3 separate regions of the Homo sapiens genome follow, and all the other regions are linked to region 1. Evidence: promoter capture Hi-C in 16 types of primary human blood cells and fetal thymus (Javierre and others, 2016). All regions are on one chromosome and are shown on one strand. Each heading gives the region's core, a stretch centred on a gene start or on the middle of the fragment in contact. The rest is flanking DNA. Distances are from core to core; before and after follow the strand shown. Region 1 holds the start of IFIT1 (interferon induced protein with tetratricopeptide repeats 1). Region 2 has its middle 24 kb from the start of SLC16A12. Region 3 overlaps LIPA (lipase A, lysosomal acid type).

Region 1 (3,266 bases), core at 356-2,855:
GTGGAAGCTTACAGAATTGGTGAGAGCTGACATGGGAGATGAGTCTGGCAGGGAGTTGAGCAGAAACTGTTTAGATCTGGCAGTGTGCCCAGTTAAGTGTTTCCAAAAGGAAAATACTCTTGCACCTGCTCCTCTTCTGCTTCTTATGTTAAAAGACAAAGTAGGTAGGTTTTTTTAAAGGAAACATTGTTTTTATATATTGTTATGATTATTTGAGACAGGGGCTCACTCTGTTGCCCAGGCTGGAGTGCAGTGGTGTGACCATGGCTCACTGCAGCCTCTACCTCCTGGGCTCAAGTGAGCCTCCCACCTCAGCCTCCTGAGTAGCTGAGACCACAGACACACACCACCACACCCAGCTTTTTTTTTCAGTTTTTTTGTAGAGTTGGGGTCTCCCTATGTTGTCCAGGCTGGTCTACAATTCCTGGGCTCAAGTGATCCTCCCGCCTTGCCTTCCAAAATACTGGGACTTACAGGCCTGAGCCAATGCACCCGGACAACAATTTTTTATTTTTTATTTATTTATTTTTTTAGACGGAGTCTCGCTCTGTCACCAGACTGGAGTACAGTGGTGTGATCTCGGCTCACTGCAACCTCTGCCTCCCAGGTTCAAGCAATTCCCCTGCCTCAGCCTCTCGAGTAGGTGGGACTACAGGTGCACACCACCACACCCAGCTAATTTTTTGTATTTTAGTAGAGAGGGGGTTTCACCATGTTGGCCACGATGGTCTCCATCTCCTGACCTTGTCATCCGCCCACCTTGGCCTCCCAAAGTGCTGGGACTACAGGCATGAGCCACCGCACCCAGCCAAGAATCATTATTTTTAACTTGATGACTGAAAATAATAATAATAATAGTTACCACTTATTTGCATGCTTCTATGTGCCAGGTAGTTGCTAACTATTTAAACTCAAATTCCATGAACTGTAGTGGAGGTTGTACTGGAATTTGATTCAGAATGACAGTGTCCATGATGGAGCAATAGAGGGCTCTCTATTTCAAACCATACCTCCTTGCTTTTACCTCCTGCCTAAGTCATCAGGGGTTAGAAGGCTTTCTAGGTATTGGTCTCTTTCCTTCATTCCTAAACCAGATTGGTTGCTTATTTCCGTCAAGCTGAAACCAAAAGTAAGCAACCAAAAAGCAACCAGCAACCAAAAGCCTTGTTACTCAATTAATTAAGAGTAGATTTTTATATTTGATAGTAGGTTCCTTCTAAATATAGAAACTGAAAATAGAGCTATCTCCTTCAATTCTCCTTTTTCTGTGTATTCATCCAGAATCCAGCCACCAACTGCCACAATAGGCAGCAATGGACTGATGTTCTTTAGGGAGGACGTGAATCTCGTTCCAAATGCTGGCCAGTCATTGGGTTTCTGCAGCACTAGAAACATCTATGGTTGCAGGTCTGCAGTTTATCTGTTTTAAAATAGAAACAAAGTTTCATTCCCCACCCCCCCCCGTCAGCAGGAATTCCGCTAGCTTTAGTTTCACTTTCCCCTTTCGGTTTCCCTAGGTTTCCAACTTGCAAGGACACACCCACAGCTTACACCATTGGCTGCTGTTTAGCTCCCTTATATAACACTGTCTTGGGGTTTAAACGTAACTGAAAATCCACAAGACAGAATAGCCAGATCTCAGAGGAGCCTGGCTAAGCAAAACCCTGCAGAACGGCTGCCTAATTTACAGCAACCATGAGGTAAGGATTTCTTTGCTCCTCTGCCATAATGTCTAAAGTTTTTGAAAAAATGGTAATTAAATACTATTTCAACAGGTTAGATCTCAGTGAGGTCAGGTTTTCTAATTCCTCGATTTGAGTATCTGCTTATGGACTGAATGTGTGCATGCATGTGTGTGCACGTTCACACATACATAAATTGTTTAATGCATTTTTATGTTTGTTAGCATGAACTTGAGGAAGCTTACCTCATGCTATAGCCCAAAGAAGGGGAGGGAAATGGGAAAAGAGTTTTGCAGGAAGGGAGAAAATGATCCCAATCTGAGAGATTCTTTCCCATCAGATTCACTTCTGTCTGATATGGGGAAGGAATGGACAGCTTGTCTGAGTAGAGGCATTGCTTTCTGCAGGTTCTTTACCACAGAGAAAAAGCAGGACCCACAAGAATGTGAAAGCCTCAGTCTTGCAGCCTCTCTGATGTCTTGTGGGTAATACAGTGGAGATGTGGTAGGAAAAGCTCACAGCCTTCCTCCATAGGCTTCTGGTCTCACTTTCTGCACTGCTGGCCTCTTACAACAGGTTTTCGCAATCAGGCTGAGCTTAAGATAAACAGATTGCCTCCTCCCTGGAAAATCTAGGCTCTTGGTACGTCCTTGACTGAAGATGATCCACATCTGCTTGGGAAGATCCGTATCTTCCTTACCTAAAGGGCCTAATGTGGGAATTTCTCAGCTGATTTAAAAACCATTACTTAGGCCGGGCAAGGGGGCTCATGCTTGTAATCCCAGCACTTTGGGAGGCCAAGGTGAGCAGATCGCCTGAGGTCAGGAGTTGGAGCCCATCCTGGCCAACATGGTGAAACCCCATCTCTACTAAAAATACAAAAATTTGGGCATGGTGGCACATGCCTGTAGTCCCAGCTACTTGGGAGGCTGAGGCAGGAGAATCACTTGAACCTGGGAGGCGTAAGTTGCAGTGAGCTGAGATTGTACCACTGCACTCCAGCCTGGGCAACAGAGCGAGACTCCGTCTCAAAAACAAACAAACAAACAAAAAATCCATTACTTAATACTGATTTGTAAATTTTCCCCTCAGTGCTCCAGTTGGCAAAATTTTGAAGAGGTAAAAATTCCAGAAAATGCACATTACAGGCCTATGATGAACCCTCCTCTGTAAACAGATGGAGTTGGTACTGATAATTAAAATAATAATAATATTAAATGTTATAAAGGTAGTTATCACTTCTTGAATTCGTATTAAGTGACAGCCTGGCTTCTAAAAGTGTTATGTAAATTATTCCATTTAATTCTCAAAAGATACTTATAAGGCAGGTACTTACACAGTCATGCATCGTGTAACAATGGGGATACACTCTGAGAAATGCAGCTGTTAGGCAATTTCATCATTATGCAAACATCAAACCTAGACGGTATAGCCTACTACACACCTAGGCTATAAACCTGTGCAGCATGTTACTGTACTGAATACTGTAGGCAACTGCAATACAATGGCAAGTATTTGTTTATCTAAACATATTTAAACATAGAGTACAGCAAAATTGTGGCATTAAAATCTTATAGGACCACC
Region 2 (3,113 bases), core at 260-2,759, 170 kb after region 1:
CTGAGGCAGGAGACTCGCTTGAACTAGGGAGGTGGAGGTTGCAGTGAGCTGAGATCATACCACTGCACTCCAGCCTGGGTGACAGGGCGTGACTCCACCTCAAAAAAAAAAAAAAAAAGAATGTAGTCCACGGCCAGGCACAGTGGCTCATGCCTGTAATCCCAGCACTTTGGGAGGCTGAGGCAAGCGGATCACTTGAGGTCAGGAGTTTGAAACCAGTCTGGCCAACATGGTGAAACCTCATCTCTACGAAAAATCCAAAAATTAGCTGGGCATGGTGGCAGGCGCCTGTAATCCCAGCTACTCAGGAGGCTGGGCAGGAGAATCGCTTGAATTTTGGAGGCAGAGGTTGCAGTGAGCTGAGATTGTGCCACTGCACTCCAGCCTGGGCGACAGAGCGAGACTCTGTCTCAAAAAAAAAAAAAAAATAGTGTGTGGTCCGGGTCGTGGCATTCACGCAGCAACCTGAAGGAGGCAGGGGAGTGTGGCTGTGGTCATCTGGAGGGAAAGCACGGAAAAGGAGAAAGGGGCAAAATGAAGGCACCCTGAGTTTGGAGTGTGCTTGGTATACTTGAGGAAACACAAGGAGGCTGATGCGACTGGAACAGATGAACTAGGGCAGAAGTTCAAATTCTACTCAAAAAAAGAAGTGGAATTAGAGCAAGGGCAACAGCTAACCCAGATAATGATGTCTGCTGAAACTATCTCTTGGGGTCGTCTCCTACAGCTGCCCAAGGCAATGTTACTCCCTATTACACCGCTCAGTTGCGGTGTCCTTTATCTCGTGTGGTGAAAATTAGCGACGTGGACACACGTGGAGTGGATTAAGGGGTAGAAAGTTTAATAGGCAAGAAAGGAGAGAATAGCTCCCCGTACAGAGGGAGGAGGGCTCTGAACCGAAAACCCGCGTGCAGAGGAAAGCAGTGGTTTATATTGGGAGGCTGGAGGAGGTGGTGTCTAATTAGCATAGGGCACAGGGGATTGGTTTAACCACGTGTGTCATTCAGGTAGCCCCCCCAAAAAAACTGGCCCTCCCACCCTAGCCTTTTATTATGCAAATGCGGCTACCTGGCTGGTCGCCATGACACCTGTACACGTGGCAACAAAGAAAAAGTAGCAGGAACCGCCATATTGGCTGGACCTGACTCTTAACCATCTGCATTTGCATATCAATACTTGCAGGTCTGGTTTTTCAGGCTGCTTTCTGTTAGATAATAAATATTTGGGGGACCGCTTTTTTATTAAACGAAAAAGACTTACTGAGGACTCTTTTACCCTCTCTAGCTGCCTAAAATAATTTCTTAATAACTCCTGTAATACCTACATATAGAACCTTTTACAGTTCTCCAAATAGATTGTGTTCTTCACCCTTCCACGCCATCTCTGTCTACCTAAGCGGACTCCTTTTATACTTCAAGTCAAGCTTAATTATGGCCTTCTCTGGAAAACTGCCCCCCATCCTGATTAGACAAGCATGCCCTCGTAGCACCTTGTCACCCTATGCACAACCCTATCCTAGTGTCTATTGCATTGCATTGTAGCTGGTGCTTTACTTCTCTACCTTGCCCACCAGACAGCAAGCCTCTTGAGGACAAGAAAGCTTTTTCTTTCTGTCTCGGTATCCATAGTACTTAAATACTTATATAGACACAACAGATAATTAGGAAATGTTTACTGAATGAATAAATAGCATTGGCAATCACTCATAAAAACGCCAAGTCAGATTTTAGTACCCCCTTAGCATACTTGCACATGATACCTACTAGCAATCCTGAAGGGTCACTAGATGCCAGGCAATGCACTGAATTAGGCGGTTGTTGGTTACTATTCATTATCTTCCAACAACCCTACAAATTAGATGTTATTATTCCCATCTTTAAATGTAAGAAAAATAAAATTGGGCAGGTTAAATAGCATATGTCACCACCTAGACCCAGGATTTTAATTTAGTCTCTCTAAATCCCAAACTACACCAAGCTGTAAGTCAGAAAAATGTAAATGAGGAACAGCTTATGGTACACTTAAAAAAATTATTTGATAAAAATCTGTTAGAGATTTACAGAAAACTTTTCACACTGTATTTACATTGCTTGACTTCATTATGGATTTTCAAGGAAGAATGATTGAAGGCCAACTCAATCATTCAGCCACAGTGAAGAGTTTGGCATAATTTGAAACAAAGGAATACATATGGGAAGCATCTAGAACTGAGTGAAATGGTGGCAAAGAAGACATGGACCTATACAAATATTACTAATTGGGAAAACACTTATAAACCACTGTAGGGTTTCTACATTGTTGAATGCTATCCCAATTTTTTAATACATGACATAGAACAATATTTACATACATGTACACTGAAAATAGATCCAAAGGGTATAAAACAAAATGTTTTGGTTATTTCTGAGTTATATAATTTTTTTTTCTGTGCTTGTCCACATTTACTAAAATCTCCACAATTAAAAAAAAAAAAATCCATGATGAGCTGGGAGTCGTGGCGCACACCTGTGGTCCCAGCTACTTGAGAGGCTGAGGAAAGATGATCACTTTGGCCCGGGAATTTGAGGCCAGCCTGGGCAATATAGCGAGACCCCATCTTTAAAAATTAAAAAAGTAAAAAAATAAAAAGTTTGTAATAAAACTTATAACAAGAAAATGAACCTAGTTAAAAAATAAAAAGAAGATCTGAATAGACACTTCACCAAAAATGATATACAGATAGCAAATAAGGCATTGAAAAGACGCTTGATATCACATGTTGTTAGGGAATTGCATATTAAAACAATGAGATACCACTACATACCTATTAGAATGGCTAAAATCCAAAACTCTAACAGCATCAAATACTGACAAATGTGAAGTAATAGCTCTCATTCATTGCAAAGTGCAAAATCGTACAGCCACTTTGGAAGATAGCTTGTCAGTTTCTTACAAAACTAAACATACTCTTACCATATAATCCAGCAGTTGCACCCCCTGGTATTTACTCAAATTAATCAAAAATTTATGTCCACACAAAATCCTGCACATGGATGTTTATAGCAACTTTACTCATAATTGCCCAAACCTGGAAGCAACCAAGATGTCCTTCAATAGGTGACTGGATAAATTGT
Region 3 (3,002 bases), core at 40-2,539, 160 kb before region 1:
TTCGTAAAAGATCCATAAGCAAATAATGAACTAGAAATAAATTGAAAGATTGACATAGTGATGTACTCACATATAATGTTAGTAAAGAATTTTTTTAAAACAGCACTGGCAAGGTAGCAGTGAAACTGGACCATTTTTTGCATGTCCACTAACAAGACACACTTATGTAAGCAGCAAAAACAAAAATCAATATATTTTTAAGAAATTATAAAATGTTTTTACAATTTTTTTCTTATAAAATGTTTTTACAATTTGCTTTCGTAATTGCATTTCTCACAATAATTCCTAACAAAATAAACAAAAGGAAAGAAAAAGATCACACATAATGAGACATCACTATACACGTATCAGAATGAGCAACATCCAAAAACGCTGAAAACACCAACTGCTGAAGAGGATGTGGAGGAACAGGAACTCTCATTCATTGCTGGTGGAAATGCAAACTGGTAGCACCACACTGGAAAAGTTTGGCAGTTTCTTACAAAACTAAACATACTCTTACCATATAATCCAGCAATCACATTCCTTGGTATTTTACCCAAAGGAGTTGAAAACTTACATCTACACAAAAACCTGCATACAGATGTCTATAGTAGTTTTACTCATAATTGCCAAAATTTAGAAGCAACCAAGATGTGCTCCAGTAAATGAATGCATAACTAAACTGTGCTACATCCAGACAATGGAGTATTACTCAGCCCTAAAAGGAAATGAGCTATCAAGCCACAAAAAGATGTAGAGGAACCTTAAATACATATTACCAAGATCTGTAAAGGCTGCATTCTATATGACATGCTGGAAAAGACAAAACTATAGAGAGAGTAAAAAAGATCCTGGTTGCCAGGGGTTAGGAGGGAGGAAGGAATTCATAGACAGAGTAAAGAGGATTTTTCAGGGCAGTAAGACTACTCTGCATGATACTATAGAGGTAGACACATGCCATCATACATTTGTCCAAAACTATAGAATATACAACATCAAGAGTGAACTGTAGTGGCCGGGTGTGGTGGTTCATGCCTGCAATCCCAGCACTTTGGGAGGCTGAGGCGAGTGGATCACTTGAGGTCAGTAGTTCGAGACTAGCCTGGCCAACATGGCGAAACCCTGTCTCTACTAAAAATACAAAAAAGGTAGCTGGGTGTGGTGCCCCACACCTGTAATCCCAGCTATTCAGGAAGCTGAGGCAGGAGAATTGCTTGAACCCGGGAGGCAGAGGTTGCAGTGAGCCAAGATTGCACTGCTGCACTCCAGCCTAGGGGACAGAGGGAGACTCAGTCTCAAAAAAAAAAAAAAAAGGGAACCCTAATGTAAACTACGGACTTTGTGTGAATGTAGGTTCATCAGCTGTAACAATTACAATTCCACTCTGTGAGGGATGTTCATAACAGGGGAGTGTGGGGGCAGAGGGTGTATGGGAAATCTCTGTACCTTCCACTCAATTTTGCTATGAACTTAAAACTGCTTTAAAAAATAAAATTTAATAAAAATTTTTAAAGCTGAATAAAAGTTAAATAGATAAAAAGGCTCACACACACAAATTCATAAATATATGTGTCTGTGTCTGCCTGTGAGAATTTATTTTCTACTCACCTGTACCCGAGACAGTGATATAGCAGAAAAAACAAAGATGTGGGAGCCAAAGAAACCTGACCTCAAGCTGCTTACCTAACGCTGAGACCATTCAGTTATTCATGAAACAAGCCTTTATTGAGTACCAACTATGTGCCAGGCCTTCTTCTCAGCACTGAGAACACAGCAGAGAACAAAAACAAGAGGAAAAAAAGTACCTCCATGGAGCTGACATTATACTGACCATGAGTTTTATCCACTTATTTGATTGATTGATTGATTGAGATAGGATGTTGCTCTGTGACCCAGGATGGAGTGCAGTGGCGTGATCTCTGCTCACAGCAACCTCCACCTTCTGGGCTCAAGTGATCCTTCCATCTCAACCTCCTGAGTAGTTGGGATTTCAGGCGTGCACCAACACACCCAGCTAATTTTTGTGTTTTTTGTAGAGACAGTGTTTCACCATGTTCCCAGGCTGGTCTCAAACTCCTGGACTCAAGCGATCCACCCACCTCGGCTTCCCAAAGTGCGGGGTTTACAGGTGTGAGCCACCACGCCCAGCCCGATCATGAGTTTTAGACAGCTCAAACAAACCTAGGCTCAACTCTGTCCTCTCCAAGTTCTAACATGACACCTTGGGGAAACATCTCCTAAAATTAATATAATTCCCTGAAGAGTAGAAATGATAATACACATTTTATAGGACACAGTGAGATATGAGATATTATATGAAAAGTAGGTAGCAAAGAGTCTGACACACAGTAAGAGTTCACTATATATCAACTCATACTATTAAGTTGCTTAACCAGTCTGCGTCTCAGTTCCAAAAATAATTGTTAAGAGGAATAAGTGAGGTAAGTATCCAGTATAGTGACTGACACACGGGTCACAGTGAACAAATGAGAGCTTCCTTTGCCCTCTGCTCATTCTTTATAACAGTGAAAAACTGGAAATAAGCTAATTGTCAAGTGGTCAAATAATTCATTGAAATCCACTTGGTATAATAATTATCCATCAACCATGACAAGGACAGTGACAGCATAGAAAAGCTTATACCTTGCAAAGGAAAAAAAAGCAAAATACAAAATTATAGACTACTCTAAATTACAGCTGTGCAAAATTAATGTACACCAAAGAGGAGTGTAAAATACCAAGGAAAAATGAGAAGAATGATTTGTCCAGATGATAAGACTATAAGTGAATTGACAAATGTTCATTTCTGCTAATGTCCTAATATAGATTTGATAACTAGCAAATTGTTTTTAAATGACAGTTCTGCTGCAAGGTAGCTTCCGTAGACTACTCCGGAAGGCACTGCTCACATACATGAAAATATACATGGTACTCCCTGGAGTTGTACAACCTGGGGGTGCTATACCCTCGTGTTGTTAAAATAGCAGGACCCCAGGCCAAGAGTATAAAATGATTCCCAT

The links. Contacts are between HindIII fragments. The CHiCAGO score rates a contact against its expected background, and 5 or more counts as called.
Region 2: a contact is called between a fragment that was not itself captured here and the fragment with the promoter of IFIT1 in region 1, in 4 of 17 cell types (naive CD8 T cells, total CD8 T cells, naive CD4 T cells and 1 more). The highest score is 6.0, in naive CD8 T cells.
Region 3: a contact is called between a fragment that was not itself captured here and the fragment with the promoter of IFIT1 in region 1, in 2 of 17 cell types (monocytes and M1 macrophages). The highest score is 5.3, in monocytes.

What each region holds. Positions count from the first base shown.
Region 1 is chr10:89,391,018-89,394,283 of GRCh38, forward strand. It overlaps IFIT1 (interferon induced protein with tetratricopeptide repeats 1), which reads left to right and starts at 1,606. Exons shown (of 2, transcript NM_001548.5): 1 at 1,606-1,700. The coding sequence starts at 1,696. It also overlaps a transcript of LIPA not described here. RefSeq lists a silencer at 441-602 and enhancers at 1,155-1,204, 1,435-1,484, 2,286-2,335. The HindIII fragment of the contact is 1,915 bases long and covers 6-1,920 here.
Region 2 is chr10:89,558,011-89,561,123 of GRCh38, forward strand. No RefSeq gene overlaps it. Among named protein-coding and RNA genes, the nearest start is that of SLC16A12, 24 kb to the left of the region's middle. RefSeq lists an enhancer at 859-1,383. The HindIII fragment of the contact is 177 bases long and covers 1,422-1,598 here.
Region 3 is chr10:89,228,474-89,231,475 of GRCh38, forward strand. The region is part of intron 3 of LIPA (lipase A, lysosomal acid type); the gene reads right to left. Among named protein-coding and RNA genes, the nearest start is that of LIPA, 22 kb to the right of the region's middle. The HindIII fragment of the contact is 2,654 bases long and covers 1-2,616 here.